5 separate regions of the Homo sapiens genome follow, and regions 1, 3, 4 and 5 are each linked to region 2. Evidence: promoter capture Hi-C in human tissues and cell types (Jung and others, 2019). All regions are on one chromosome and are shown on one strand. The core of a region is centred on a gene start or on the middle of the fragment in contact, and the rest is flanking DNA. Distances in the headings are between cores, read along the strand shown. Region 1 overlaps KCNQ1 (potassium voltage-gated channel subfamily Q member 1). Region 2 holds the start of CDKN1C (cyclin dependent kinase inhibitor 1C). Region 3 overlaps KCNQ1 (potassium voltage-gated channel subfamily Q member 1). Region 4 overlaps KCNQ1 (potassium voltage-gated channel subfamily Q member 1). Region 5 overlaps KCNQ1 (potassium voltage-gated channel subfamily Q member 1).

Region 1 (5,579 bases), core at 1,326-3,825, 240 kb before region 2:
ACAGGCATGCACCACCATGCCTGGATAACTTCTTAATTTTTTGTAGAGACAGGGTCGTGCATTGTTGCCCAGGCTGGTCTTGAATTCCTGGGCTCAAGCGATCCTTCTGCCTTGGCCCCCCAAAGCACTGGGATTTCCTTTTTTTTTTTTTTTTGACCGATACATAATACTTATGGGGTACATGTGCTATTGTTACATGCATCGAATGTGTAATGATCAAGTCAGGGTATCCATCACCCTCAATTTATCATCTCTATAGTTAGGAACATTTCAAGTCCTCTTTTTTATTTTGAAATATACATTATATTGTTAAATATAGTCAACCAACTCTTATCAAACATTATAAATTATTTATTCTAACTAGCTGTGTATTTTTACCCACTAACCAACCTCTCTTCACCCTCCAGACATACCTTTCACAGCCTTTGGTATCTATCCTTCTACTCTCTACCTCCATGAGATCAACTTTTATAGCTCCCACATATGATAATAACATAAGATAATTATCTTTCTGTGCCTGGCTTAAAATAATGACCTCCAGCTCCATTCATGTTGCTGCAAAGGACATGATTTCATTCTTCTTTGGTCAATTAGTATTCCATTGTATATATTTACCTCATTTTCTTTTTCCATTTATCCACTGATGTACACTTAGGTTCCTGAGTCCATATCTTTGCTGTTGTGAATAGTGCTGCAATAAACACGGGGATGCAGGTACATTTTTAGTATACTGATATCTTTTCCTTTAGATAAATATCCAGTAGTGAGATTGCTGGATTATGTCATATTTCTCTTTTTAGGTTTTTCAGAAATCAAACTGTTTTCTATAGTATTAATTTACATTCCCACCAACAGTGTATAAGAGTTCCCTCCACATCCTCTCCAGCATTGGTTAATTTTTGTCTTTTTAAAATAGCCATTCTCACTATGGTTTTGGCTTGCATTTCCCTTATAATTACTGATGTTGGGCTTTTTTTTTTAAATATACCTGTTGGCTACTTGTATGTTTTCTTTTGAGAAATATCTATCCATGTCTTTTGCTCACTTTTTATTGGAATTAATTTGTTGTTTACTATTGAGTTATTGGAGTTCCTAGTATATTCTGGTATTAGTACCTTGTCAGATGAGTAGTTTGCAAATATTTTCTCCCATTCAACAGGCTGTCTCTTCACTCTGGTGATTGTTTCCCTTGTTGTGTACAAGCTTTATCATTTAATATAGTCCCATTTGTCTATTTTTGTTTTTGTCTGTGTTTTTGAGGTCTTATCCATAAAATCTTTCCCTAGACCAATGTCCTAAAGTGTTTCCCCAATGTCTCCTTCATTAATAGTGATGTTATAGTTTCATGCCTCATGTTTAAGTCTTTAACCCATCTTGAGTTGATTTTAGTATAGCAAGAGATAGAAACGGTTTCATTTTTCACATGGATATCTTATTTTCCCAGCTCCATTAAGTGAAGAGGGTGCTCTTTTCCCAGTGTATGTTCTTGGCATCTTTGTCAAAAATCAGTTGGCTGTAAATACATGGATTTACTTCCAGGTTCTACTCTGTTCCATTGGTCTATCAGTTTTTATTCCAATACCATGCTGCTTTTAATGCTATAGCCTTATATTTTTAAATCAGGCAGTGTGATGCATCCAACTTTGTTATTTTTGCTCAGAATTGCTGTGGCTATTCCAGCTCTTTTTTGGTTCCATCTGAATTTTAGGATTTTTTCTATTTCCATGAAAAATGGCATTGGTATTTTGAGAGAGACTGCATTGAATCTGTAGATTGCTTTGGGTAGTATGGTCATTTTAATTTTGTTAATTCTCCCAATCCATGAGAATGGGATGTTTTTTGTGTGTTCTTTTCAATTTCTTTCATCAGACTTTTGTAGTTTTCCTTGTTAGAGGTTTCTCACCTCTTTGGTTAAACTCATTCCTAGATTTTTTGTAGTGGTTGTAAAAGATAATGCCTTCTTGATTTCTTTCTCAGCTGGTTCTTTATTGGTATATAGAAATAAGCCTGATTTTTAAATCCTGTAACTGTAATCAATTTATTGATCAGACTGAAGAGTTTTGATTTTTGTATTTCATGGTATGAGTTGTAATATCCCCTTTTTCATTTTTGATTTTATTCATGTAGGTCTTCTCTCTTTTCTTCTTGGATAGTTTAGCCACTGGTTATTTTGTTTCTTTTCAAAAACCGATTTTGCATTTCATTGATCCTTTATATTTATTTAGTTTCTTGTTTAGTTCTGCTCTGATCTTCGTTATTTCTTTCCTTCTACTAATTTTATGTTTAGTATGGTTTGTTCTTGCTTTTCTGGTTCCTTCAGGTGTATCATTAGATTATTTAAGATCTTTTCTACCTTTTTTAATGGAGGCATTTATTACAATAAACTTTCCTCTTAGCATTGCTTTTGCAGTATCCCTTAAGTTTCAGAATGTTGTGCTTCTATTTTCACTTGTTTCAGTAAATTTTTTATTTCTGCCTTAATTTCTTCTTTGACCCATTGGTCATTCAGGAACATGTTAATTTCCATTTATTTATACAGTTTTGAATGCTCCTCTTATTTATTTATAGTTTTATGCTATTGTGGTCTGAGAAGATATGTGATATGAATCCAATTTAAAATATATATATATTTAAAATCATACTTAGTGTCCTAACATATAATGTATCCTGGAGAGTGTTCCATGTACTGATGAGAAGAGTGTATATTCTGCAGCTGTTTTATGAACTGGTCTGTAAATGTCTGTTAGGTCCATTTGGTATAAAGTGCAGTTTAAATCCAATGTTTCTTTGTTAATTTTTTGTCTAGATGATCTGTCTAATACTGGAAATGGAGAATTGAAGTTCCCAAGATTATTGTGTTGAAGTCTACCTTTCCCTTCAGATTTGATGTTTGCCTTATATATCTGGGTGCTTTGGTGTTGGGTGCATATATGTTTAGAATTGTTATATCCTCTTGGTCAATTGATCCCTCTGTCACTATATAATGACTTCGTCTCTTTTTAGTGTTTTTAGCTTAACCTTTGTTTTATCTGATGAAAGTATAGCTACTCCTGTTTGGTTTTTGTTTCCTTTTGCATGTAATATCTTTTCCCATTCCTTTCTTTCAACTATGTGTCTTTACAGGTGAGATGCGTTTCTTGTAGATAGCATTTAGATGGGTCATGTTTTTAAGTCCATTCAGCCAGTCTGTCTTTTAAGTAGAAAGTTTAATCTATTTATATGCAAGGTTATTGTTGATATGTGAGGGCTTATTCCTGTCATTAATTGATTTCTGATTATTTTGTGTGCTTTCATGAAGTTGTCCTTTCACTTCTTCCTGTAAGACTCCCTTAAGCATTTTTTGTAGTGCCAGTGTAGTGGCAATTAATTCCCTGAGCTTTTACTTTTAAGGGAAATACTTTATTTCTCCTTCATTTCTGACGAATATAACTTTGCTAAGTACAGTATTCCTGGCTGGCAGGTTTTTGGTTTTGTTTTTTCTTTCAGCACTCTGCGTATATAATCCCATCCTCCTGGCCTGTAAAGTTTCTGCTGAAAAATCTGTTAGTCTGCAGGTTGTTCCCTTGTAAGTGTCTACAACCTCTTTTATCGCTGGTTTTATGATTCTCTCTTTGTCTTGGGATGGGCAATTTGCTATAATGTGCTGTGGAAAAGACCTTTCTGAATTGTATCTATTTAGGGTTCTGAGATTCCTATATTTGGATCTAAATCTCTTGGGAGATTGGGAAGTGTTCAGGTATTATTTCATTAAATAGGTTTTATAATCTTTTGGTTTGCTCTTCACCTTCTGGGACACTGAAGGTGTCACCTTATGGCATCCTATAGTCACATAGCCTTTGTTCATTCTTTTCTATTTTTTCTATATTTTTGTCTGAGTCATTTCAAAAGACTTATCTTCAAGGTGTGAAATTCTTTCTTCTGCTTGTTGTGGTCTGTTATTGAAGCTTTCAAATATGTTTTTTATTTCATTCAATCTATTATTCAATTCCAGAATATCTGTTTGGTTCTTTTTATATCTATCTCTTGGGCAAATTTCTCATTCATACCCCGAATTGTTTTTTCTGATTTCTTTGTATAGTCTATCAGATCTTCTTTAATATTATATTGAATTTTTCAAGGTTTCATCAATTTCTTTTTCACTGGAATCTGTTGGAGAATTATTGCATTCCTTAGGAGTTGTCATGTTTTGCCTTTTCATGTTTCTTGTGTGCTTACACTGGTATCTGCACATCTGGTGTAACAGTAGTTTCTTCCAATTTTTTGATCTGTCTTTCCTAAGAGAGTCTTGTTCCTGAAGATATATCTATGGTGTTCTTTGGGCAGGGCACTTTGGTTTTGATTCTGGGTGCCTGCAGTAGTGTGATCTCCATGGAATTTTTTTCAGCTGTAAACAGCACCAGTAGTGTCTGGGAGTTCCTCTGTAGTTTAGGATGCAGTTGTTGGTGGAGGCTGTGGTAAAGTCTGGCTGGGGATAGGGACACCAGCTGGGCCAGTCCTCAGGCCCCAGTGGCAGCAGTGGCTGGCCCCGAATGCTTATCCTTGGGCCCAATGGTAGTGTATGCTGGTACCAGTGTTAGCAAGTCCAGGGAAACCAATTTTGGGCCTCCAGGCAACTTGCTCAGGTGCCAATGATGACAGAGCTGGGCCACAGGGTGGGTAGGTCCTTGAGCTCTGAGCAGCAGATATGGCTTGGGCAATGGCAGTAGCAGTGGCAGAACAATCTTCTGCCTCCCAAGGTGTCCATGCTGGTATTGGGATGGCTGGGATAAGCTGGATGAGCTTGTCCCAAGGCCCACAGGTGGCAAATTCAAGTGAATGCCAGTTGTGGTGGTAATGGTCAGTTGGGTAGGGCAGTCCTCAAGCCCCCAGGAGTGCTCAGGTGCCAACAATACTGGATAGGGCAGGGTGATCCCTAGGCCCAGAGATGGTATGCGCTGGCACTGGGAGAAAAGAGGGTGGGACCAGGCCAGGTGGGCCTGTCCTGAGGCCCTCCAGTAATGCAAGAATGTACTGACTGTGGTAGGCAGGCACAGGAAGATCCCTGTATACCCTGCTGAATGCTCATGTTGGGGCAGCAGCAACTCTATTGCAGCCCTACTCCTGGGGAAGTTGAGTGGGATTGCTTTCAGTGGCAGCAGCTATAAACAGGCAGTTGGGCAATGCATGCTTCGGCCCCAGGTGGTGACTATGGGCAGGGTCACCTTTCCTCATGGCAGCCTTGCTTCGGAGGTAGCAGAGTATTGCCAATGGCTCATGCTTTGGCCTGGAGGGAGCAGTCAGGAGTGGCAACCAGCTTTGTGTAAGGGATGTCCATGGGGCTCCAGGGATGAGATAGAGGGATGTGGGGCCCACAGCAGATGCAGTCTGGTGGGGGTTGGGCTATCAAAATGGGACTTTCCTGAAGTTGCCTGAGGATTCAGGGGATGTGTGAATTGCCTGAGGATTCAGGGTGATCTCCCTCTCTGGGAGCTGTTCATTGCCATTTCACAGTCTGTAGGTAGCCTCTTGTTAGTCTCAAGGCATCTATGGGTCAGGGGGTTCTCTGACTAGGATTTCAGGAGTCTGCTGTGGGAATGTGG
Region 2 (5,811 bases), core at 106-2,605:
GGGCGAAAACTGCGCTCCCGGGGGGTCGCGGCCGGGATTCAGCCTCCCACCCCGCCCGCGCGAAGCCGCTGGAGGGCACAACAACGGGGCGGGGAGGGGGGTAAGGGCGCAGCCGCGCCCTGAGCGCTGCGGGCCCTTTAATGCCACGGGAGGAGGCGGGAACCCAGCGAGGCCCCCGAGGGCTGGGGGGACCGGCCGGCCGGACAAAGCGGGGCCGGGCCGGGCCGGGGCGGGGCCGTGCGGGGCTCACCGGAGATCAGAGGCCCGGACAGCTTCTTGATCGCCGCGCCGTTGGCGCTGGCGGCCGCGGTGCCGGCCGCGGGACGTCCCGAAATCCCCGAGTGCAGCTGGTCAGCGAGAGGCTCCTGGCCGCGCTGCCCCTGGTTCGCGCCCTGCTCGGCGCTCTCTTGAGGCGCCGCGTCCGGGGCCGGGGCCGGGGCGGGGGCCGGGGCCGGGGCCGGGGCCGGGGCTGGGGCCGGGGCCGCGACTGGAGCCGGGGCCGGAGCCGGAGCCGGAGCCGGGGCCGGGGCCGGGGCCAGGACCGCGACCGCGACCGGAGCCGCGACCGGAGCCGCGACCGGAGCCGGAGCCGGGGCCGGGGCTGGAGCCAGGACCGGGACTGGGGGCGGGGTGGACGCCGGGGCCGGGACCGGGACACTAGGCAGCTGCTCCGGCGCCTCCTCGAGGCCGTCGAGGGACTCAGCGGCCGGCTCGAGGGGCGGGCTGACAGCCACCGCGACCGCGACGGGCCGCGGCGCCAGCAGCAGGCGGCAGCGCCCCACCTGCACCGTCTCGCGGTAGAACGCGGGCACCGAGTCGCTGTCCACTTCGGTCCACTGCAGGCGTCCAGGGCCCCGCAGCGGCATGTCCTGCTGGAAGTCGTAATCCCAGCGGTTCTGGTCCTCGGCGTTCAGCTCGGCCAGGCGGGCCTGCAGCTCGCGGCTCAGCTCCTCGTGGTCCACCGGCCCGAAGAGGCTGCGGCAGGCGCTGGTGCGCACTAGTACTGGGAAGGTCCCACGGGCGACAAGACGCTCCATCGTGGATGTGCTGCGGAGGGACGCGTCGGACATGGCCCGGGGCTGCGCAAACGCGGGCAGCGAGAGAGGAGAGGACAGCGAGAAGAAGGGGAAAGGAGAGGAGGAGAGGGCGGAGGCCGGGCGCAAGGGAGACCCCGCGCCGCCCGACTCTGCGTGTGCGAGGGACGCGGCGGCTACCTGGCTGTCCGGTGGTGGACTCTTCTGCGTCGGGTTCGCCTGTCTCGTCCGGACGGCAGCCGCGCCCCCTCGATGCCTGCTGGCTAGCTCGCTCGCTCAGGCCTGGCCGGCACCCCTCGAGCACAGCGCACTTGGCCTGTGGAACGCCCAGCCCGCCTGCGCCCCCTTTATACGCGCGGGCCCCACCCCCGTGCGCGCGGGCCCGGCCGCGATTAGCATAATGTAGTATTTTCAGTTTCAACAACACCACGGCGATTGGCGGCCGCCCCGCTGCCCCGCCCCGCCGCGGCCCGGCCCCCGCGCACCGCCCATTGGCCGCGCGCACACCCACCGGGGGCGGGGCGGGGCGCGCGGCCGGGGCGCGCGGCTGATTGGCGGCCGCGGGGCGAGCGCGCTGTAGCAGGGGAAGGGGGCGGTGAGCGGGGCGGGGGCGGGAGTTAAAGGGCGCTGCGGGCGGTAACGTGACACCGCGACGCCCGCCCCCTCGCCCCATCCCCCCTGCAACACTCCCCCACCCCCCCGGCTCCCGCCCCCCGCCGGCTCCTTTGTCTGCAGGCGGGGGCCTCAGCCCAGCGCGGCAGGGGCCGGCTCCTGGCGGGTCCGGTGTCCGGCCAGGCCCAACTCGACCCCGGCCCGGTCCGGACCCCGGCGCCCAGCTCCGTCCCGCGCTCGCCCGTGGGCCTCCTGCGCCAGCTGACGAGGCTTGGACCCGCCGCTGCCAGCTCGGCCCTGGCCTGCGCCGGATGGGGTCTTCGGCTGCCCCCGCGCGGCCTGCTGCTGCTGGGCTGGTGTCCCTTCGAGGGCTCCGCGCGCCTGGAGCCCTCACACACCTGCTGGCCCTAAGGCCCTCGAGTCGGGAGGGGGGACAGGGGTCAGCTCCACTCTTTCCCCGAGGGACCATGTGTGGGACACCTTGAGAGACTCCCACCAGCCCCCTGGAGCTGGAGTCTGAAGCCGCTATCTGCGGAGGCCCACCCTGCCCAGTAGATGGAACAGGGGCTGAGCCCATCATGTCACTGTCGGGGGTCCCAGCCCTTCTCAGCCTTGGGCCAGACCACTCCAGCCCCGGGATCTGCCTGTCCAGGCTGGCTGGAAGCTGTTGTACTGGGTAAAAGTGAAAGATCTGCCCGAGGTCATAGGGGAAGGGGCTGTGAAGGACCATGCCCCTCCCCCGCCTGCAGCCCTTCCTGGTACAGACCTCGGTCGTGCGCGCACGCACACACACACACACACACACACGCACGCACACACACGGTGCTTCACCCCAGCCAGGCCAGACCAAAAGAGACCATTATTTCCTGCTGCCTCCCTTTTGGCCCACCTACCATGAGGCAGGGAGCCCCCTCCTCAAACCAGGAGCCTCCCAGATCGGGATGGGGACTGTCAGACACCTGTTGGAGGGTCCAGCAGCCCATGAGATCTAAGCCCCTATCTCAGGTGAGCCTGTGAGCCAGCAGAGAGACCTCTGGGAGGGAGGGAAGGTGCGGTCCCCTGAACCCCAACCAGCCTGCCTTTGAGTCCCAAGACACCCCCACCCCCATGGAATGCTGTGGCAGTGTGCAGCTGCAGCTGGGGGAGCAGGGCGGGTCTTCTGGGTCTCAGGGAAGCGAGATCTGAAGTGAGGGGGGTGAACTGGATGGGACAGGGCGTTAACCCAGGAGAGGGGCCAGGGCCATTCTTGGCTCTTGATGGTGGAACCAAAAGCCATGATTTATGTGCAATTTCATATTCTTCTCTGTGCACAATTTACAAATTTCCCGCAACAAGCCCAGATGTCACAATTTTCATCTTAGGAAAACAAAGAGAAGCTGAAGAAGGCTCCCCAGGCCCTGCGAACCCCTCAAGCAGGGCTCATATCAACTGGCCTGGGGGCAGAAAGAGGCAAAGTCTAGTCTGCTCCATGCCCCTATGCTGCCACCTCCCCAGAGACTAGGAGCAAAGGGCTAGAGTGGGTAGTGACCTAGAGGCCCCCGGATACCCACACTCCAACCATCAGGACTCATTGGCCTTGGTGACACCACTCAGAGGGTGTAGCTGCCATCATCCTGTGTTATAGAAGAGCAGCAGAGACCGCGTCAGCCGCTGAGGCCGCACAGCTGGAAGGAAGCAGGGCTCAGAACTCCCGGGCTGCCTGGCTTTCTGGTTTGGTTTCCACTTAGGTTTCCTACTTTTATTTTTCCACTTTACCAGCTTAATTACAGAGTCAAACCCAGTGCTGTGGGGATTCCTCCGTCTTGGCCTCGTTAGAAGCTGAGAGGTGACCTGCTCTAAGTCTGTCACTCTGAATTCGATCAAAGATGGTACCCAATAGCATTTTAAACCTGCACGTCCCAGGAGCGGGGCTGTGTCCCCCCAGCCCAAGCCAGGGACACACCTGGAGGAAGGCACCCCAGGAGCTGGGGGCTGGGAGTTCCAGGCTCTGAGAGGAGGCCCAATGGGCCCAGAAGCAAGCAAACATCTGTCTAGGTGCAACAATCAAGCTCTATTTTTGTAATTAAAAATGTATCCAAAGGGAAAAAAGAAACAAAAGGAACAATATTTGTACTCTATGTTGCTGCAGAGAGCAGAACTGCGGAGGGGGTGCTAGTCCCAAGGGGTGGACTGTGCTGTGCTAGTGCCCTAAATCCTGCAAGCGCGGGGTTGGGGGGGCGGGGGAGACCGCTGTCGGGGGTCGTGAGTTCCGGGCCCTTGTGTGCATGTTCACGTCCTGTCATTCTTGCCCCCAGCTGAGAGAGCAGTAGAGGAAAGGCACTACATCCACCAGCCTTTGCATTCTCCTCGGAGCACACAGAAAGACATTTTCCAGTTATCTTGCACACAAGTGGGCGGCGGGACCCGTTTTGGCCGGGAACGTTGTCAGGAACGCTGTACACCACTTCCAGGCGGTCACGTCCGAGCTGCCCAGGCAGTCCTTCTGCGCCCTCTGCTGGCCAGATGGAGGCTGCAGACCCTGCGGGGCCATCAGGAGAGAACCACCAAGCACCCTCTGCACACCGCATTGCCTGTGTTGGGCACAAAGAATAAACTTTTATTGCATCTTAACCCACTAGAAATGTAGGCTTGTCCATCACAGTGGGGCGTTACATACCCTAATACATAGGGAAGGCATAGGTAGATTTCAGTTGGCCTTTTACAGACAAGGAAACCAAGGCTTGAGAAGATTCAAACCTTACTGCAGCCATGGCTCACACCTATATACCCTCAGTACTTTGGGAGACCAAGGCAGGTGGCTCGCTTGAGCCCAGGAGTTCCAGACAAGCCTGGGCAACATAGAGAAACCCCATCTCTACGAATATTTTTTAAATTAGCTGGGTGTGGTGGCACGTGTCTGTGGTCCCAGCTACTCGGGAGGCTGAGGTGGGAGGATTGCTTGAGCCCAGGAGGTTGAGGCTATAGTGAGCCGTGATCGTGCCACTACCTCTAGCCTGGACGACAGAGCAAGACGCCCTCTAAAAAAAAAAAAGAAGAAGAAGAAGAAGAAAGAAGAAGAAGAAAAAGAAAAACTTGCTGCCCAAGCAGTTAAGGCAGGATTAACCTGCAGCCCTCACTGCTGTGCGTTCCTTCTAGGAAAGACCCAGAAGCCAGAGAAGCCTAGGTCCCAATCCTGGTGGATCTTCGTGCTGGAATCGTTAAGCCAGCTGTTTCCCAGGGGCCACCCATGGGCCAGTCCTCACCACAACCTCATGGGTGGTCGGTCAATGTCGTAGGCCCGCTTTACAGCCGAGGAGACAGAGGCTTCCAGAGGCAAACACACTGGTCCATGAGTAGCAGAACGAGGGTAGGCCCAGGAAGCCATGTCCTTGGCCACATGTGCTTTCTGGCGGGTGACCTCCACTCCAGTGCCTCCCCGGCTGCCCGAGGCCTCCCCTTCCCGGGTGTGGCAGCTGTACAGCTGCCTTGTCGGCATGTTCATGGCCCCATCAGGAATGTGTGCCGCAGGTGGCTTCACAGGGCTAGGAATGCCCGTCCTAGGTTAGGCCCAATCCCTACCCAGAGCCCCAGGGAACCCAAATTCTGGGACACAGGACACCCGGCCAGTGGGCCAATGGCCCCTATCAGGGAGTGACCAAGGACAGGCCGGGAGCTCTTCTTTCCCCTCTGACCCATGGTGAAACCTGCCTCGGGCCTGTTCCCTGGGTTCTGAGGCCCTGAGCTATCTGTCTTCAAACAAACGAAGGCCTCAAAGAATGTTCCATTGAGCCATGGGCCCCATATCACCCATCAATCACAAAGGGCTGGGGATTGCAGGCACAGGGTCAAGGTGGGTAGGAGGTGAGGGCTGGACACCATCTGAATCTGTGCTGTTCCAGGGCCCACTAGAGAGTCTCCAGGTACCCGGAGCCTGCCCTCAGCAGTACCACCCTCCCACAGCACCCCAGGGACCCTGCAAGAGGTGTCTGTGCCCTTCCCGGCTGCCTCCCCAGCTGCTCCCCAGGTGGTGCCCTGTGGAGAGGACCAGAGGGATATTATAAACAATGACAACACTTGCTGCCTTCATCTTGTGCCTGCTCAGGGCCCTGCCCTAACCCAGGGCTGGGCTCGTTGCCTCATTTAATCCTTCCAAGACCCCTGAGAGGGAGGTGTGTTCGTGCCCATT
Region 3 (5,341 bases), core at 414-2,913, 210 kb before region 2:
AGATGTTACCATATAATGCTTTACAAAAGACAAACCAAAATCCCCTCTGGATTTGTTTTTTTCTAAAACGTGTACATAATTGTAACTCTAACAACTGTTATTGCATATGAGATAAAATAATATTTTAACTACTGTTATTTTTCAAATTAACTTCCCAATCAAATATCTCTATTGTAAAATTTTGGTCTCCGTTTTCAGTGGATTTACTTTAAGAGATCCTCCCTTTCCCCCCATTTCCAGCAGGATTAAAATGTTCATTTATGTTGTGATAGATACTGCCAAATAAGGGCTGTACCATTTACATCACTTTGACTGCACAAATGCACTTTCTTCCCCCACCCTTACCAAGTGTATACTCAGGTTTTTATCTTCATTCATTTCATAGATGAGAAATGGTACACTGGAGCTTTAATTTACATTTCTTTTGTTGGAAATGAGGTTTTTATCTTTCCAAATGCTTAAAATCATTTGTTTTTCTTTCTTGTGAACTATTTCTTCATACCCTTTGGACTTTGTAAAATACCTTGTCTTACTGATTTGTAGAAACTTGCTTTGTCATATTCATTGAAAATATTTTATCCTCATTTTCCTTAGGTGTTTTGGCTTTTTCTATAATATTTTTCTGGTGGCAGAATTTTTTTAATTTCACATAGTCAGCTGTGTCAGTCTTTTATGGTTTGAGGTCCTTATCTTAAATTCTGAAATAACCTCTCATCCTGAAATTGTTTTAATAAATTCTTCCATGTTTTCTTCTATCATTTTTTATTTCATTTTTTACATTTAAATCCTTGCTTTATCGGGATTTTGACAGAGTAATTAAATCCAATTTGGTTTCCCATATATTTGTCCAGTTGTCCAACACTATTTATTTGAGTACATCATCATCTCTCTACTAATTTCAACTGCTACCTTTATCATATTTCAAACTCTCATTTAATTTGTGTCCATTTCTAGACTCTATTCTGGACTGCTGATGGGCCTGTTGATAGGCCAGAGCTCAGTTATTTTAATTATGTAACTTTATGATGCACTTATCTGTGTAGCAGGACTCCCCCTCATCTCCATTACTTAAGAGCCAATAATGGGAAGCTCATTTTCACAAATGCAGTCAACCAGGGGAATTCATGGCATGGCCTAAGATCTAAACACTCTTAAGATTTAAACACAGGATTAGCTCTTGAGTTAGACAGGAAGCTGGGGTGTTTGGGACTGAGGCTTCATCGTGGCAGCTAATAATGTCAGGGAGCATGAGCACTTGTTTCTTCCAAGGCTCACTTCAAGGAAGGCAGAATCCAGGTCGGGGGTGCACAGGAGTTGCCAGCTGGACCCAAGGACCATTTCGTATACATGTATGATCATACTTTCAGGGCATCTTGGAAAAACTGAATTTGCTAACTCAATAGAGAACAAAAGAGCAAATAGGCCTAATTCAAGAATTTTTAAAAACCCGCAATAAGAAACATAATCTAAAACTTGTAGCCCAGCCCCTCCTCCATACCAACCACCAAAAAAACCCACTAACACCATAAAGTGTCATAGCTAGAGCTAGAGTGCTGTTATAAGCTGTGCAGGCCAAAATGGTTTCATGGCATGAGTTGGGCAGCAGCGACTCAGTTTCCATGTCTGAGTTAGGCCACCTGTAACAATGCAGCCCCATCCATGTGAAGCTGGTCCAGAGGACTACAGCTGCCTGTCCCACCCTTGGCTGTGCTCTCCTTTACTAATCCATAGCCAAAGACAGGGGCTAATAACAGGGTCTGGAGTCTGAACTCATATCCTAATTCCACTACTTTCTACCTGCTACACCTTGAGTGAGTCACTTAGTCTCAGTTTCTTTATTTGTAAAATGGGAATCATAAGAGTACCTTCCTCAGAGGGTTGTTAGGAGGATTACACAAATTAATAATATAAAGTATGCAGAAAAGTGCCTGTCCTATAGTAGTGACACAGTGTTACTTAAATGTATTGCTATACCTCATGATGGCCATTCCATCCATTGTAATCATGTGTACCATGCAATTCACAGTGCCTGACAAAGCTGATGGGGAGGCGAGTTGGAATGAATAGTATCAGCATCAGAAAAAATACAAGTGCATCCTCATAAGATTATTTAGGATGCATAGGATCCCAGATTAGATTTTTTTTAAATCAGCCGTTCTCTGTATTCTTGTCCAGATGCTGTGGACAGTGATGATGGGAAAATAGTCCCTGCTGCACACTAGGGCCTGTTAGGCCAGTTGAGGGCTAGAGGAGCACAAGGGGCCAGACTGCTGCTACTTCTGAATTTTATAGGACATGCATTTTTTTCATATAAACTTAGAACTAGCACGCCTAATTTTTTTTTTATTTTTATTTTTTTTGAGGCAGAGTCTCACTTTGTCACCTAGGCGGGAATGCAGTGGCACAGTCTCGGCTTACTGCAACCTCTACCTCCTGGGTTCAAGCAATTCTCCTGCCTTAGCCTCCCTAGTAGCTGGGACTACAGACATCTGCCACCATGACTGGCTAATTTTTTTTTTTATTAGAGACAGGGTTTCACCATGTTGGCCAGGCTGGTCTCAAACTCCTGACCTCAAGTGATCTGCCCGCCTCAGCCTCCTAAAGTGCTGGGATTACGGGCGTGAGCCAATGCACCTGGCCTCAGCTTGCCTAATTAAAAAAAAAAAAAAAAAAAAAGTTGTCTATCTGTGTGTATATTCATATCCCATTGGCATTTGTTATTGAAACTTCATTCAATTTAGATTAACTGATGAAGAATTGCCTTCCCCACCTCAAAAAAAAAGTCTTTCCAGCCACAAATAGAAGCAGTTTACCCACATGTTCAAATCCATTGCAACATCCTTCCATATTTTTTTAGATCTTTGTATGGATTTTGGACATTCTAAAATTCATTTCTGGGTATTTTTAGGAGGACTACTGATTTTTTTTTAATTTGGGCATTTTTTAAAATAAATTTTTATTTTGAGATAATTGTACATTTCTCATGCAGTTCTAAGAAACAACACAGAGAAATCTTACATACTCCTTTACCTAGTCTCCCCCGATAGTAACATCTTGCAAAACTGTAGTACAATATTCTGACCAGGATATTGCATTGATAGTCTCACTACAGGACATTTCTAACTCTTCAAGAATCCCTCATGTCCCCCTTTTATAGCTACCCCCAATTCCCTCCCACCCTACCCTGTCCTTAGCCCCTGACAACTACTAACCTATTCTTCATTTCTTTATCATTCCAAGAAAATTATATAAATGGAACCACATAGCAAATCACCTTTTTGGGATCGGCTCTTTTCACTCAGCACAATTCCCTGAAGATTCACCCAGGTTATTGTGTGTATCCTTGCATTTTGGTATGACCCAATTTGGGTTTGTATTTTTAAAGCTGATGGACACTATTTACTAGTGTTTTCAAGATTGCACTGACCATCATAGGTGAAATAGGTATGTGTTCTTTTATTATGAAAGCCTCCTCAGATGTGGACATTAGTGAAATGTGGGCTCCAAAAAGAGACTTTGGAAGATTTCACTAATGATGTGGTTATTTTTTAAATAGATGCCCCCCAAAAAAGCACCTATGAAAAAATTCTTACATAGCAATTCTACTTCTGAATGCTAAGAGGGTTTGGAAAAAGTCATTTTTGCAGTGTTTGTGTTCTATGAAGAGTGGGTAGAAGGAAGCAGGAGAGTATTCCTGCCTCCCCAGGAGAGAGCTTCACTTTCTCCCTATACCTTCCTGTCCTACCAGCCCACCTGGTTCTCTGTCTCTCTCCAACTGTGACCGTCTTTTCCTTGTAGCTCCCTGCTCACTCCATGTGGAGGATGGCTCTTGGGGCTGGGGTGACTAAAGGCAAAGAATGGGGATCCCTGTGACAGCTCTAGGGGATTTTGGGACCAGATAACCTTAATGGCCTCAGGCTCCCTAGATGAGAAATGGGACTTAGTAAAGTCAAACTGGTCCAGGTTAAGCCAGCCCATGATGCCTGGAAGGAACTTACCCTTTTCTAGAGTAACTTCCCTTTTCAGGAAGTTTCTAGCTTGCTTGCTCACTCGCTCTCCCCACCCCCACCCAACCTCCCCCAACCTATCTCTCCCTCTCTCAGGAGAAGGTGCTCCCTCACCCTTAAAGACCAGGCTGCCGTTGCTTCCCATGTGTCTGTTCCTCTATTCAGTATTGTGGGCACTGATCACACACCAGGGCACTGTGGGGGCCCTGGGACCTGGGAGGACCAGAATGGGTACAGTCCCTGCCTTCTCAGGTTATGGTCATATCATCCATGCTCCCCAAACATCAAGGTACTCCAAAGGAGGCCCAGCACTACCATCTAGGTGGGGAGAAAACACACCGGCCATAATGAACACACGTTTAGGCTGAAGAATAATCTTCAAATGATACTACTACTTACACTTCCTGTTTGCCAGGCAAATATAGACATCATTTCACTAATCCTCACAGCAGCTTTTAACACAAGAATATTATCACTCCTGTTTTATAGATAATCTCCTAAGGGTTGAGGGATTGAGTCTAGGGCCCAGGGTCACAAAGCTAGGGAGCCGTGGATCTGCAGGAGATGTCCCAGCTCATCAAATATTCTTTCAGTATTAAACATATCAAGCTCTCTCCTGACCTTCTCTCCCCTTCCCCAGGCCAGGACTGTCTTATCCTGTGGTTCTTAGCTGAAATGTCCCTTCCTCAGAGGAGCCAATTTCTAAAGCTTAAGACTGGGCTGTAAAAAATCACATACCTCCCCTCCCATTCTTAATGTGTAACTGTGTGTTTATTTGTGGTAAAGGGTTTACTGGCTGGCTCCTTCTATCACATTCAAGGAGCATGAGGGTATAGGCTGGCTGTTTCTATTCAGTGTTTTATCTTCAGTGCTTAATCCATATGGAGCCTGTCACGGACCCTCAGTGAATGTTTGACGAGTGAGTGAGTGAGTGAGTGAGTGAGTGAGTACTTGTGCCCAGGTCAAACCAGGTGCTAGGACCCTGGCAGGGGTTCCATAAGGCTATGCTGGGGTTCAGGCAACCCAAGGCTGGTCTGGAGAGTGTAAGGCTTGAGAGCTCTTCTTCAGGCTCAGTCATCCCTGCTTCCCCAGGGCTCATGTCCACATGCTATTGTCCATAGAAGCTGGGGTCCAAAGTTGACCAGAATATCTCTAGTCATAAAGAATCTCTTCCCCTTGAGCCCACTCATCTCTGTTGACATTCTAGAAATGCAGGGAAATCTGGGCACCATGAAATGCAGTGACTTGCAGTGATCCTCCTGGGGCCTTGTATAGAAGAGACCATCTCAGTTTTGTAGACCAGGAAACTGAGGCTTGGGGATAGCAGATGTTCC
Region 4 (5,900 bases), core at 3,071-5,570, 230 kb before region 2:
CACAGTCTCCAACACACAAGCCAGCAGACAATAACCTCTCCTCTTGAATTGGAAAAACAAATCTGTGGAGGCCTTCTCTGCCCCTTGTTATAGGGGCCCCATATGCCGTTCCCAGGATTAAACCAAAAAGCACACATTCCTCTCTGGCAGGTGCAGGTCCCACCCACTCTGGGCAGCCAACTGATGTGCACATTTTAATTTCCTAAAACACCAGGACAGAACCTTCCTCAGGGGTCAGGTGGCTCACCCTTGGCCCTCAGGCTTTGGAGATGGGCACTTGTCATCATGGGTGTTTGGAAAGCAACTCTACGTTCTAGCCTGTGCTCCATCGTTCCTTCTACATACAAGTGATGCAAACATCAAAATATGTTTTTTCTTTCTTCCTTCCTTTAAAAAAAATTGAATCCTGGATGAAGTTTTAGCTCTGTCACTTGACAACTGCATTATATAACCTAGGGTACTTGAATCTCAGCCCCAAATCTCTAAAATGGGGGCAGTAACATGCTTCTGCCAGGTCCCAGACCTGTGGGTCTCCAAATCTGCACATTCTTCAAGCCTTACAGGTCCTTCCCTGGTCTCTCTAAGGATGTCATGGGCACAGAGCCCTTTCACTCTGAGCCCTTCTCCTGGCTGTGACTAAGTAATGTCTGTGTGGTTTCCTGCTGGAAGTCTGCCACTCGCCCCCACGGGCCATGAGCTCCTGAGTTTATTTACATTTCCCTGATTGCTAGTCAGGCGCAACACCTTTCCACATGCTCATCAGCCTTTTGGATTCCTCTTTTGTGATGTGCTACTTTGTCTATTGCCCATTTTCTATTAAGTCATTTATATTTTTCCTATTGATTTGTAGGAGTCCTTTGCATTTTGTGGGCACTGTCTTTTCACTCTTTAAGGTGTATTTTGATGATTGGGTCTTAACTCTAATGTCAAATTACTCAGTCTTCTCTCTCATGGTTATTGCTTCTTTTAAAAAAAACCATCCTAATGCTGATGTCATTAAGATATTCTTCTATATTCAGTCATGTGACCTTTATAGTTATGCTTTTCATAGTTAGGTCTTCAATCCCCTAGAATGACAAGAATGAATTTTTGGTATATGATGTGAGGTAATTAAGGGTCCAACTTAATGTTTTTCCAGTGTGGGTATCCAACTGCTCCTGAACATTTGATTGAAAAGTCCATGCTCTTCCCAGGATGTGCAGGCCACCTCTGATACACAGCAAGCTTCCATATTTGTGTGGGCTGTTTCCCAATGCTCAATCCTGTCCCATTGGCCTATTTGTCTCTCCCTGTGTCAATACCACATTGCCCTAATGACCACTGCCTTGGAAGAAGTACTGATGTTTGGTACAGCAAGTTCTCCCACCTTGTTCTTCTTCAAGAATATTGCCAATTCTTGGCTTTTTGCACTTCCAAGTCGCAGTTAGAATCAGCTTGCCAAAGTTCTCACACAGAAGCCTTGAGATTTTTATTAAGATTTGGAGAGATTTATTCAGATTTTGAGATAATCTTTTCAGTATTGAGTCTTCTAGTCATTGGAATGAAGGCATATTTCTCCATTTATATCTTCTTCATTGTCTCTTACTAAAGTTTTACAATTTTCTCCAGAGTTCTTGCATATACTTAGTTAGATAATTAATATTCTTTTGTGCTATTGTATACAGGTTCTGTTTTCTCTTGTTACCTCACATTTTTTATTTACAGAAGAGAAACAAAAATAGTACCGAGTACCCACATCCCTTTCACCAGCTTCCCCTAATGTTAGCATCTTATATAACCATGGTACATTGACCAAAACTAAAAAATTAACATTGGTACACTATTAAGCTAGAGTTATAAATTTATTTGGATTTCCCCAGTTTAACTACTAATGTCCTTTTTCTGTTCCAAGATCCCATCTAGGATCGATCATTACATTTATTGTCATCTCTGATCGGTGACGGGCTTCTCAGTCTTGTTCTTCATTAACTTGACACTTTTGAAGAATACCAGTCAGGTGTCATTGTCCCTCAGTTTGGATTTGTCTGGTGTTTTCTCAGGACTAGACCAGGGTTATAGGTTTAGGGGAAGGAGGCCAGTGAGGTGAGATGCTTTCCTCATTGTGGAACATGACATCAACATGGTTTATCACTGGTAATATTAACCTTGAGCCACTCGTTTAAAGTGGTGTCGGCCAGGCTCCTCCACTGTAAGTGAATAGCTGTTTTTCCCTTTCCATAGCTTAGTCTTTAGAAGCGAGTCACTAAGTATAGCCCACACTCAAGGTGGGGAAGGGAGGGGTTCAACTCTACCTCCTGCAGGAGAGTATCAAAAAAAATCTGCAAATATGTTAAAACTACCACAGCAATTAAAATACATTTCAAGGAAGAAACTGTGAAGTTTCTGAGTTTCACTAACTAATTTCAGCATTCATTCATGGATCGTTTTCCTGCAGCAAATATTACCGTGATGTACTTCTATTTTCCTCATTCCTTCTACATTTTTTATTTGGAATTCCTTTATAAGGAAGATTTGTCCCTCTCCTCCAATTGTTTATTTAATTTTATCAGTGTGGATTTGGGAGTATTTATTTTTTGAGTTATAGTCCAATATTATTTATTTTGTTGCTCAAATTGTTCAAGCTGTGGCCACTGGTGGGTTCATGTGTCCTTTTGATGTGCCCCCCGCCATCCTTTTCATTTATTTTTAAGCATTTCTTTTCTAGCACTTGACAATACTTCAGGCTCATCTTTTATTTTCCCTACCCTAGCCCTAGAATCATCCATTCATCCAGAGAGCCCTGGCTCCCTGGAGAATGAATAGAAAACCTGGATCTAGGCACGGGGTATGCTCGTGGCTACTAGGGTATCATTGCTTCAGTCTCCTCTCAGTGGACAGAGCTAGGAAATATATGTATGTATGTAACCTGAGTACACATACATCTTTACATATCTGTATCTATATAAAGCTAACCATGAGTTCATACTGACATTTCTGACCAGAGTTCATCCTTGCCCCCTCCCCCACAACTTATTTATAGCTTTTTCTCTGACAGCTAGAAACCTGGCTCCCATTACCTACAGTTCATTTACTTATTTGTGTAACCCTATTGTACACGTAGTACCCTATGTGAAGCAAATTTACCTACTAGATTAGAGTGTTTAGGACAGACTTTTGCTTTAACCATAGAGTGTCCAGTCAAAACAGTGTTTTTGAAAGCAACATATGCCAGCTCCTCCTCCTCCTTTCCTTTCACTGCTATGTCATTTGTTTGTAACACGCTCATCATAGTCTGCTTTTCATCGTAGGGTCCTCCAACATCCGGGTTAATTTTTTAAATTTGCATACAGTAAAATCCACTCTTTGAGATTCAGTTCTGTGGGTTTTGACAGATGTCTGGAGTCATGTGTCCACAATCCAGTATCATTCACAGAAGTTCCATACCCCTAAAAATACCCTGGGGTGAGTCTTTTGAAGTCAAGTACTTCTCCCCTAACCACTGGCAGCTATTGATCTGTTTTATGTCCCTGTAGTTTTGTTTTTCTAGAATGTCCTATAAATGGGATCCTATAATATGTATTCTTTTGCATCTGGCTTCTTTCACTGCTTAGCAAAATGCATTTGAGATTCATCCATGTTGTTGCATAAATCATTAGTTAATTTCTTTTTATTGCTGGGTGGTATTCCATTGCATGAATATATACATTTTGTTTATGCATTCACCTGTTGAAGGACATCTTCATTGTTTCCAGTATTTGGTAATTATGAGCAGAGTTACTATACACATTTATGTACAGGTTTTTGCGAACATAAAAATTCAATTCACTTGGGTGGGAAAGGAACCGATAGGTCATGTGGTATGTGTATGTTTAACTTAATAAGAAATTGCTAAACTATTTCCTAAAGTCACTGTGCCATTTTGCATTCCCACCAGTAACATATGAGAGTTCTACATGTTCCACATCCTCAAGAGTGGTTGGTATTGTCAGGTTTTGAATTTTTTTTTTAATTTATGGAATTTCATTGTGATTCTAATTTGCATTTCCATATTTATGTTAATTATGTATCTTTTCATGTGCTTATTTATAATCCATTTTTAAAATTGGATTGTTCACTTTATTGTCAAGTTGTAAGCATTCTTTATATATTCTGAGTGCAAGTCCTTGACCTGATAGGTGATATGCAAATATTCTTTCCAAGTCTGTGCTTTGTCTTTTCATTCCATTAGCAGTGTCTGTTGCACAGCAAAAGCTTTTAATTTTGATAAAGTCCAATTTGTTGATTCTTTTTCTCTTACGAGTTAAACTTTTGGTTTCGTATTTCAGAATTCACTGCCAAATCCAAGGTCCTGGAGATTTTCTCTTATGTTTTCTTCAAGATATTTTATGGTTTTATGTTTTATTTTAGATTTTTTTTCAGTAAGTTTGTATGTAGTACCCTTTAAATTTTCATTTTCTAATTGTTGATCATCTGTCCTATCAGGCATAGATACTAAATGCATTAAAACTTTTACACACATACATATGTATACATACAACACATTCAAATAGTGAAATTAGGAATAAATTTAAGAGAGAATTGTATTACGCTGATGTGGGAAAACCTTCCTTTTTTATAAAGCAAAAGATGTATCACTTTAAAAACATAAAACATTTTCTAGGATAAAAGCAACATAATTCAGGTGAAAAAACAGACTGGGGAAGCTATCTATGCCTCATATAACAAGGAGTTAATGTCTGTAATGTATAGAAAATTCCTACAAAGTGATAAGCAAAAGTGAGCAAAGGACATGAACAGGCAATTCTGCAAGAGGAAACCCAAACAGATGCCAAGCCCATAAAAGGTATTCAACACAGATGGAAATAACAGCAATGCCTCAGTTTTCATCCATGCTTGATAGTCCCTGCAAAAGGTGCTGACAACCTTCATTCGGGCTTCATTCAACACTTCATTCAGGCATGGATGTGGGAAAGCTGGGGGAGCCTGAATTGCTACAACTTCTTGGGAAAGCAATCTAGCAACATTTATTAAAATTACTAAGGACACACCCTCTCACCCTGCTCCAGTATGTCAGCTTTTAAGAATAAAGATGAATATGGCATCATAGTCTGAATAATTAAGCAGCTTAAAACTATAAGAGCCTGAATGTCCATGATATACAGAATGGTTAGCTGTGGCCAATCTAAACTGTGGACTATTATGTAATGACTAAAATAATTAAATCCATGCCTATATACCTAGAGAAAAATGAAATGAGCTTATGTTACAGAGTGACAGGAACAGAGTCACAGTGACATCCCATGTGCATAAAAGCAACTCCCACCTGGCATCTGCTGCTCGGATGAGCAGAGAGGGTGGGCTAGGGATCTAGTTGGCAGTTAACACTGATGACCTTGGGGGAGGAAAGCCATTGTGAATCTTTGAATTATTCCACTTCTCACAGATGAGTACTTAATCCTTTTGCAATAAAATATTTAAATGAAGACAAATATAAGCCAAGAGCAAATACTGATAGTGTCAACAGAGAGTGGGGAGTGATAAGGATCAGTATCCTGAGCTCCTGTGTCAAAGTTGCAGAGGTGGGCCCAGGAATCATAATGTGAAGCCAGCTGTTGGAGGGACTCCTGTGCCTCATTGGGGGTACAACTGGTTGATGTAGCATCGTGTTTTGAGGAAGGAGTTCTGTGGCTGCCCCCACCTCCCAGGCTTGCCATTCCTCATGGGTCAGAGGTCCTATCACCCCATCTTTCCTGACCCACTACTCTGTCAATGTATGAGTGTGACAATGTATGGTGGTGGGAGCTGTTGTCCCTTACCAGGCCTGTGCCTGTCACCTCTGTTTTATTCTTGACCCAAGTGTCAGTTGTGAACATGGGAAGAGGCCCAGAACCTGAGGTGGGGAGAGTCTTGGACACCTGAGC
Region 5 (5,470 bases), core at 555-3,054, 130 kb before region 2:
TTGACACACATGGGGCCGCAGGAGGAAGGAGGCTCAGGCCAGGCCAAACATCAGAGACCTCAGGTCTGTCTCCTTTACCAAATGGGGGGCTGTTCCGCCAGCACCCCAGTAGGGAGGATGAGAGGATGCCATGATTTCCAGGGTGGTGTCAGAACCTGTCTGCCAGGGCTCTGCAGGGAGGGGTTTGGGGTTGAGATTGGGAGACCTAGAAATCGAGGGGTGTCGGGGGCCTCGGCTGGGGGGCAAGCACAGATGAGGATGGAAGCAGCTCAGTGTCACTCAGTCTGCACTGGGAATGGGGGATCCCAAGGCCAGGGCTCTGCCTGGTGCCAACTGTGTGACCCTGGGCACGCTGCTGAGCCTCTCTGGGCCCCAGTTCCCTTATTCGTACAACGGGAATGATCGAGGAGTTAACATGTGTTTAAAAGCACCGAGGCTTGGCCGGGCGTGCTGCCTCACGCCTGTAATCTCAGCACTTTGGGAGGCCGAGGCGGGCGGATCACGAGGTCAGGAGATCGAGACCACGGCGAAACCCTGTCTCTACTAAAAATACAAAAAAAAAAAAAAAAAAAAAATTGTCCGGGCGCGGTGGCGGGCGCCTGTGGTCCCAGCTACTCAGGAGGCTGAGGCAGGAGAATGGCGTGAACCCAGGAGGCAGAGCTTGCAGTGAGCCAAGATTGCGCCACTGCACTCCAGCCTGGGCAACAGAGCGAGACTCCATCTCAAAAAATATATATATATTAGCTGGATGTGGTGGTGGACGCCTGTAATCCCAGCTACTCAGGAGGCTGAGGCGGGGAAACACTTGAACCCGTGAGTTGAGATCATGCCACTGCACTCCAGCCTGGGCAACAGAGTGAGACTCTGTCTCCAAAAAAAAAAAAATAAAAAGTACAGGGGCTCTACACGGCGCCCTGAGAATTGTGTGTAAATGAGTGAAAATGGGGTGAGAGGGAGGGAGTGGGAACAGCCAAGAGGCCAGGAAGCGGAGCCTGGGTGCAGGGGCATCTTGCTGGTGAAGCTGGGGAGAGACCTGCGCAACCCCACCTGAGTGAGGCACTGTGGGCCCAGAGTCCAGGTCAGCGCCAGGGGCAGCAGGGGCTGGATCTCTGGGGAAGTTGAGGAATGACATGTATTCCAGGGAAGAATTGGGCCGGAGGCTGAAACAGGACGACAGAGCCCTCAGCCCAGGGCGGAGGACATGGGAGACGGGGGTATAGCTGTTGGGCTTGTGGCTGGCCTGGCCTAACCAGTTGGGGGAATCCATGGGAGGCTTTAGCCCTGCTCTGTGAACTGCTGGGCCTTCCTTAGGGGCCCTGGGGAGCCTTCCCAGCAGAATGTCCAGGCTCCTGCTGGCCCAAGCTCCAAGTTCTCTGGCTCCCAGGGTCTGTGTGGAATCCACCGGTTTCACCCCACGTCTTTTCCTCTCCTGCCTGGTAACCCTCTCTGCAGAGGCCCTGGCTGGACCAGTTGCTTTGCAATTCACAAGGCTTTGGAAGGCAGTGCTCACAAATCACTTTTCTAGACGAAGACCAGTAAGAAGCCCATGTCATTCTTCTGAGACATTAGGGGTTTTCTCTCCCTTGTTTTAATCAACCAGTTCCCAATAAGTCATTTCAGTCAGGCCATTACCAATGGCTCATAATCTCCTGGGCTGCTGGGCGAAATGGGATCCCCTGGCTCTTTCACTGAAAACACTTTTCTTGTTTTCTTTCTCCGGCATGCTGGAAGCCGGCCAACTCGCCAGTTCCATTAACTTAATGAGGGCTGACAGCCTGCGACAAACGTCCTCATAATCTCCCCAGGATTTAAACGGGGTCCTCCCCAGCTGCCTGCCTACACCCCAACCTCGAGGCTCTTTACCTCTGTCTGTGCACCCACCCAGCCCCTCCTGGGAAAAAGCCAGGACAAAGATGTATTTCTTCGCTAGCTCCTTCCTGGTGGCTCTGTGCAGGCAGCCTCAGACCTGTAGGCCCTCTGCCCAATTTGGGTCACCCACAGCCCCCGCACCCCACAGCAATTTCTTGGGAGCTGATCATCCCCAAAGCTTGGAACTACAAGGCAGTGACTGGTTTTGCCGGGCTCCGCTCGTCCCTCTGAGCGGAGGGTCACCCTGGTCACCATGAAAACTTTATCCTCATCCACACCTTTCTTTCTCCAACTAGCATGGGAATCAGTTTAGGGTCCTCCCACACCCTCATCCAAACCCTCATCTCCCACCCCCCACTTGCAGAGAAAGCCCCACGCTCTCAGCAGAAACGGACGCCAGCGTTTAGGAGCGGGTGGGCTCCCGGAAGGGGGCTCTATGGGAAAGGGGAGGCAAGGCTGAGCAGCTGCCCAAAGTGAGCATCTGTCCCACGTTCCACCCCCAGGAAACCCTCTCTCCTGACGCGGGGACTTGCGTCTCAGTGCAGAGGGCAGTGGAGGGACAGTGCAGCTCCGAAATGAGCATCTGAGTTCACTGCTGGTGGGCACCATCCCGGCCAACAGGCCACTAGTGTGTTCTCCCTCTTTCAAACGGGGCGGCGACCCTCGTCTGACAGGCGGCTGTTCTGAGAGCGGTGGCTGTCCCAGGGAAGCCCTCGGTGAGCGTAGCGTTACCATGGTTTTTAAATTAAAGCATCTGCAGATGCGCTGTGTCCCTGCAAGGGCAGGCAGATCGGGACCCCAGGGACTGGTCCCCATAGCCAAGGTGTTCAGCCGCCCTGTCCCCTACACAGAGTGCCTCTCCCACTGGCTCAGGGTGAGGGCAAAATGGCACTTGCAGAACATGAGGCCCGGCCAGCTTTGCCCTATTCCCCCCATAGCATGGCTGACCTTCCTCTGAGCCCCTCGTGGATGCCCACACACGGCAAGACGTTTCCTCAAAGATGCTCTTCTGCAAAGCTGCACTTTCTCGGTTGCCGCTGCCACCTTGGCACCTCTCTGGGGTACCTTGTACTGCCCTGTCCTCCCCACGCCCTGAGGGGCCGTCCTAGGCAGCACTCACCCTGGTCATCCCTGTTTCCACCACAAGACTGTTTGTAGCCGAGCTTGGGAGTTGTGTTGTGTAGTGTTGACTTGAGTTGCATCGTGTTGTGTTGACTTGAGCTGAACTGTGCTGAGTGTTACTGAGTTGAGGTGACTGGGTTGATTTTAGCTTCACAGGTGATCTGAACCCAGCTGAGTGGCTTCCATGGAGCTGATCTGAACCCAGCTGAGTGGCTTCCATGGAGCTGATCTGAACCCAGTTGAGTGGCTTCCATGAAGCTGATCCGGACTAAGCTAAACTGAGTTTCATTGAGCAGCTTGTTTAGCTGGTGTGTGCCAGGTGGTCTCTCGGGGGGTCCGATGGGATACCTAGTGTCTTAATCTGTTCAGTCTGCTATAACCAAATACCTTAGACCTGGTGATTCATACTTAGGAATTCATTGTTCTGGAGACTGGGAAGCACAGGGTCAGGGCGCCAGCAGATCTGGTGTCTGGTAAGGGGTCTGTCTGATTCATGGAAGTCAGCGGGCTGTGTCCTCACGTGGCAGAAGAGGCAAAAATAAGGTGCAAACAAGCTCCCTCAGGCCTCCTTTCCAAGGGCACGCATCCTCTTCCTGAAGGCTCTGCCCTCACGGCCGAATCACCTCTCAAATGCGCCATCTCCTAACACCATCAGGGCTGCGGGTTAGCTTTCGACATAGGGACTTTGGGAAGACACACACATTCAGACTACAGCACCTTGCTCCTGGGGAAACAGAGGAAACTGGTTCCTTTCTTTCGGTTCTGGGTTATGTCAAAATGAGTTCCCTTTGCTGAATCTGTTTCAGCCACCTCTCCCGAGGATCCTCGCACAATTTCACTGCCAGCCAGGAAGGTCTGCCCTGGCTGGTCTGGGCTTGAGGACCAGCACGGGATCGTTCTCCTCTGTGGGTCGCTGATATGAAAACAATCTCACAAAGACGTAAGAACCACACATGCTTAGTGTCATGTGTGATGCATCAACCCAGGGGGAGGAGAGAACGTGCATTCACGCAGAACTCTCTCAGCCACAAGCTCTGTTTCTGTTGCATTTGGGCCAGGTTGCGAGGAGCCTGGCAGGCCACCCGGCCAGTGTGGATGTCATTACATGAGCAGTAGGAAGCCATACAGTATCTGAGGCGGGGGAGTCACGAGATCTTCAGTCTGTCCCTCGGAAAGCCCCTCCTGCCGCCACTCAGGGGGATGGGTTGGAAGGGGTGAGGCTGGAGCCCAAATAGGGAGTTCAGAGGCCTCCGTGTCTGCCCAGGGAAGGAGGGAGGCCAGCTTCAGCTGCTGTCCTGAGGGTTCCTGCCTGGGTCCCTGATCCCCCTGAGAAAGGGCTCCCTCCCAGAAAAGGCATGTGCCCTGGGCAGAGCCAGGAAAGCTGGGGATGTCTCAAAGCCTCCCTACCTGCTCTGTGTCCCCTCCCTCTGGAGCCTGCCTCTCTCCCGAGCAAAGTACCTGCCACCTGGGAGTGATCTGGGACAGTCAGATGCACCTTTTGAAGTATACACCTCAGTGGCTTTTGGTATATTCAGAGTCATGCAACTTCACGACTCTCTAACTTTAGAGCATTTTCATCACCCTCAAAATGTCCCTTGCATCCCAGGTACAAAGCCATACCAGGCCCCATGGGGATGGCTTGTGACTGCTGCACATCCTGCCCCTGGACCTTACTCTAGTTCTTCTTTCATCCACTGGTGTATTCCTTTGGCCGGGGACACACACATTTGAGAAACTTCCCAGCTTCCCTCTATCTGAGGCTCACTCCATTACAACACAAGGAACTGAGACATCTGTGGCTGGTTTTTTTTGTTGTTGTTGTTTTTCCAAATTGTATATCTGATAAGGGATGTGTATCCAGAATATACAAAGAGGTCTTACAACTCAATAATGCATTGACCCAATTAAAAAATGGGCAAAGGACTTGAGCAGACATTTCTCCAAAGAGCAGATACAAATGGCAAATGATCACAGGAACACATGCACATGAACACACGCTCAGCCTCAGCAGTCATTAAAGAGATGCAGATCAAAACCACAGTGAGGTTTACACCCAGTAGGATGACTAAAACAAAAAAGACAATAACAAGTGTTGGCAAGGATGTGGACTGCCAGAGCGAGGCTAGCCATGCCATGTATCTGGAGGAGGGCCCTGGAGGGGTGTGCCCATTGCATGTCTGTGTGTTCCCATGCAGTGGGCACAGGCAGTGGTGCCAGAAAGAGCCTCTGCTGGGCTTTCTCACCACCCCAGCCTCTCACCTGCAGCCCAGGCATCCTCCAGTGGGTTTTTCAGGGAACTTAACATGATGAGTCTAAAATTTCTATGGCTGAATAAAGAACTGAATAAAAATAACCAAGAAGATCAAGGAAGGGCCCTGCCTTCCAGATATCAGGATGTGGAAGAGGCTATACTAACTAAGATGTTGCAGTGTAGGCACAAGGGTAGACAATTAGCCCATTATCCCAGTGGACAAGACAG

Evidence for each region. Contacts are between HindIII fragments. The study calls those that stand out against the background at their distance.
Region 1: a fragment that was not itself captured here is called in contact with the fragment with the promoter of CDKN1C in region 2 in 3 of the 25 tissues and cell types used here (hippocampus, lymphoblastoid cells and mesenchymal stem cells).
Region 3: a contact is called between a fragment that was not itself captured here and the fragment with the promoter of CDKN1C in region 2, in 3 of the 25 tissues and cell types used here (hippocampus, lymphoblastoid cells and mesenchymal stem cells).
Region 4: a contact is called between a fragment that was not itself captured here and the fragment with the promoter of CDKN1C in region 2, in 1 of the 25 tissues and cell types used here (hippocampus).
Region 5: a contact is called between a fragment that was not itself captured here and the fragment with the promoter of CDKN1C in region 2, in 2 of the 25 tissues and cell types used here (mesendoderm cells and thymus).

Annotation. Positions count from the first base shown.
Region 1 is chr11:2,640,425-2,646,003 of GRCh38, forward strand. All of the region lies in intron 10 of KCNQ1 (potassium voltage-gated channel subfamily Q member 1), which reads left to right. KCNQ1OT1 (KCNQ1 opposite strand/antisense transcript 1) reads right to left here. Exons shown (of 1, transcript NR_002728.4): 1 at 1-5,579. Among named protein-coding and RNA genes, the nearest start is that of KCNQ1OT1, 57 kb to the right of the region's middle. The HindIII fragment of the contact is 4,799 bases long and covers 177-4,975 here.
Region 2 is chr11:2,884,420-2,890,230 of GRCh38, forward strand. It overlaps CDKN1C (cyclin dependent kinase inhibitor 1C), which reads right to left and starts at 1,356. Exons shown (of 4, transcript NM_001122630.2): 1 at 1,215-1,356; 2 at 251-1,047. The coding sequence starts at 1,037. SLC67A1-AS (SLC67A1 antisense RNA) reads right to left here. Exons shown (of 3, transcript NR_169305.1): 3 at 2,925-4,216. RefSeq lists enhancers at 346-1,181, 1,182-2,017, 2,018-2,853. The HindIII fragment of the contact is 9,348 bases long and covers 1-4,056 here.
Region 3 is chr11:2,677,552-2,682,892 of GRCh38, forward strand. All of the region lies in intron 11 of KCNQ1 (potassium voltage-gated channel subfamily Q member 1), which reads left to right. KCNQ1OT1 (KCNQ1 opposite strand/antisense transcript 1) reads right to left here. Exons shown (of 1, transcript NR_002728.4): 1 at 1-5,341. Among named protein-coding and RNA genes, the nearest start is that of KCNQ1OT1, 20 kb to the right of the region's middle. The HindIII fragment of the contact is 7,250 bases long and covers 1-5,288 here.
Region 4 is chr11:2,655,802-2,661,701 of GRCh38, forward strand. The region is part of intron 10 of KCNQ1 (potassium voltage-gated channel subfamily Q member 1); the gene reads left to right. It overlaps KCNQ1OT1 (KCNQ1 opposite strand/antisense transcript 1), which reads right to left. Exons shown (of 1, transcript NR_002728.4): 1 at 1-5,900. Among named protein-coding and RNA genes, the nearest start is that of KCNQ1OT1, 41 kb to the right of the region's middle. The HindIII fragment of the contact is 8,700 bases long and covers 1-5,900 here.
Region 5 is chr11:2,749,089-2,754,558 of GRCh38, forward strand. All of the region lies in intron 11 of KCNQ1 (potassium voltage-gated channel subfamily Q member 1), which reads left to right. Among named protein-coding and RNA genes, the nearest start is that of KCNQ1OT1, 52 kb to the left of the region's middle. The HindIII fragment of the contact is 7,970 bases long and covers 1-5,470 here.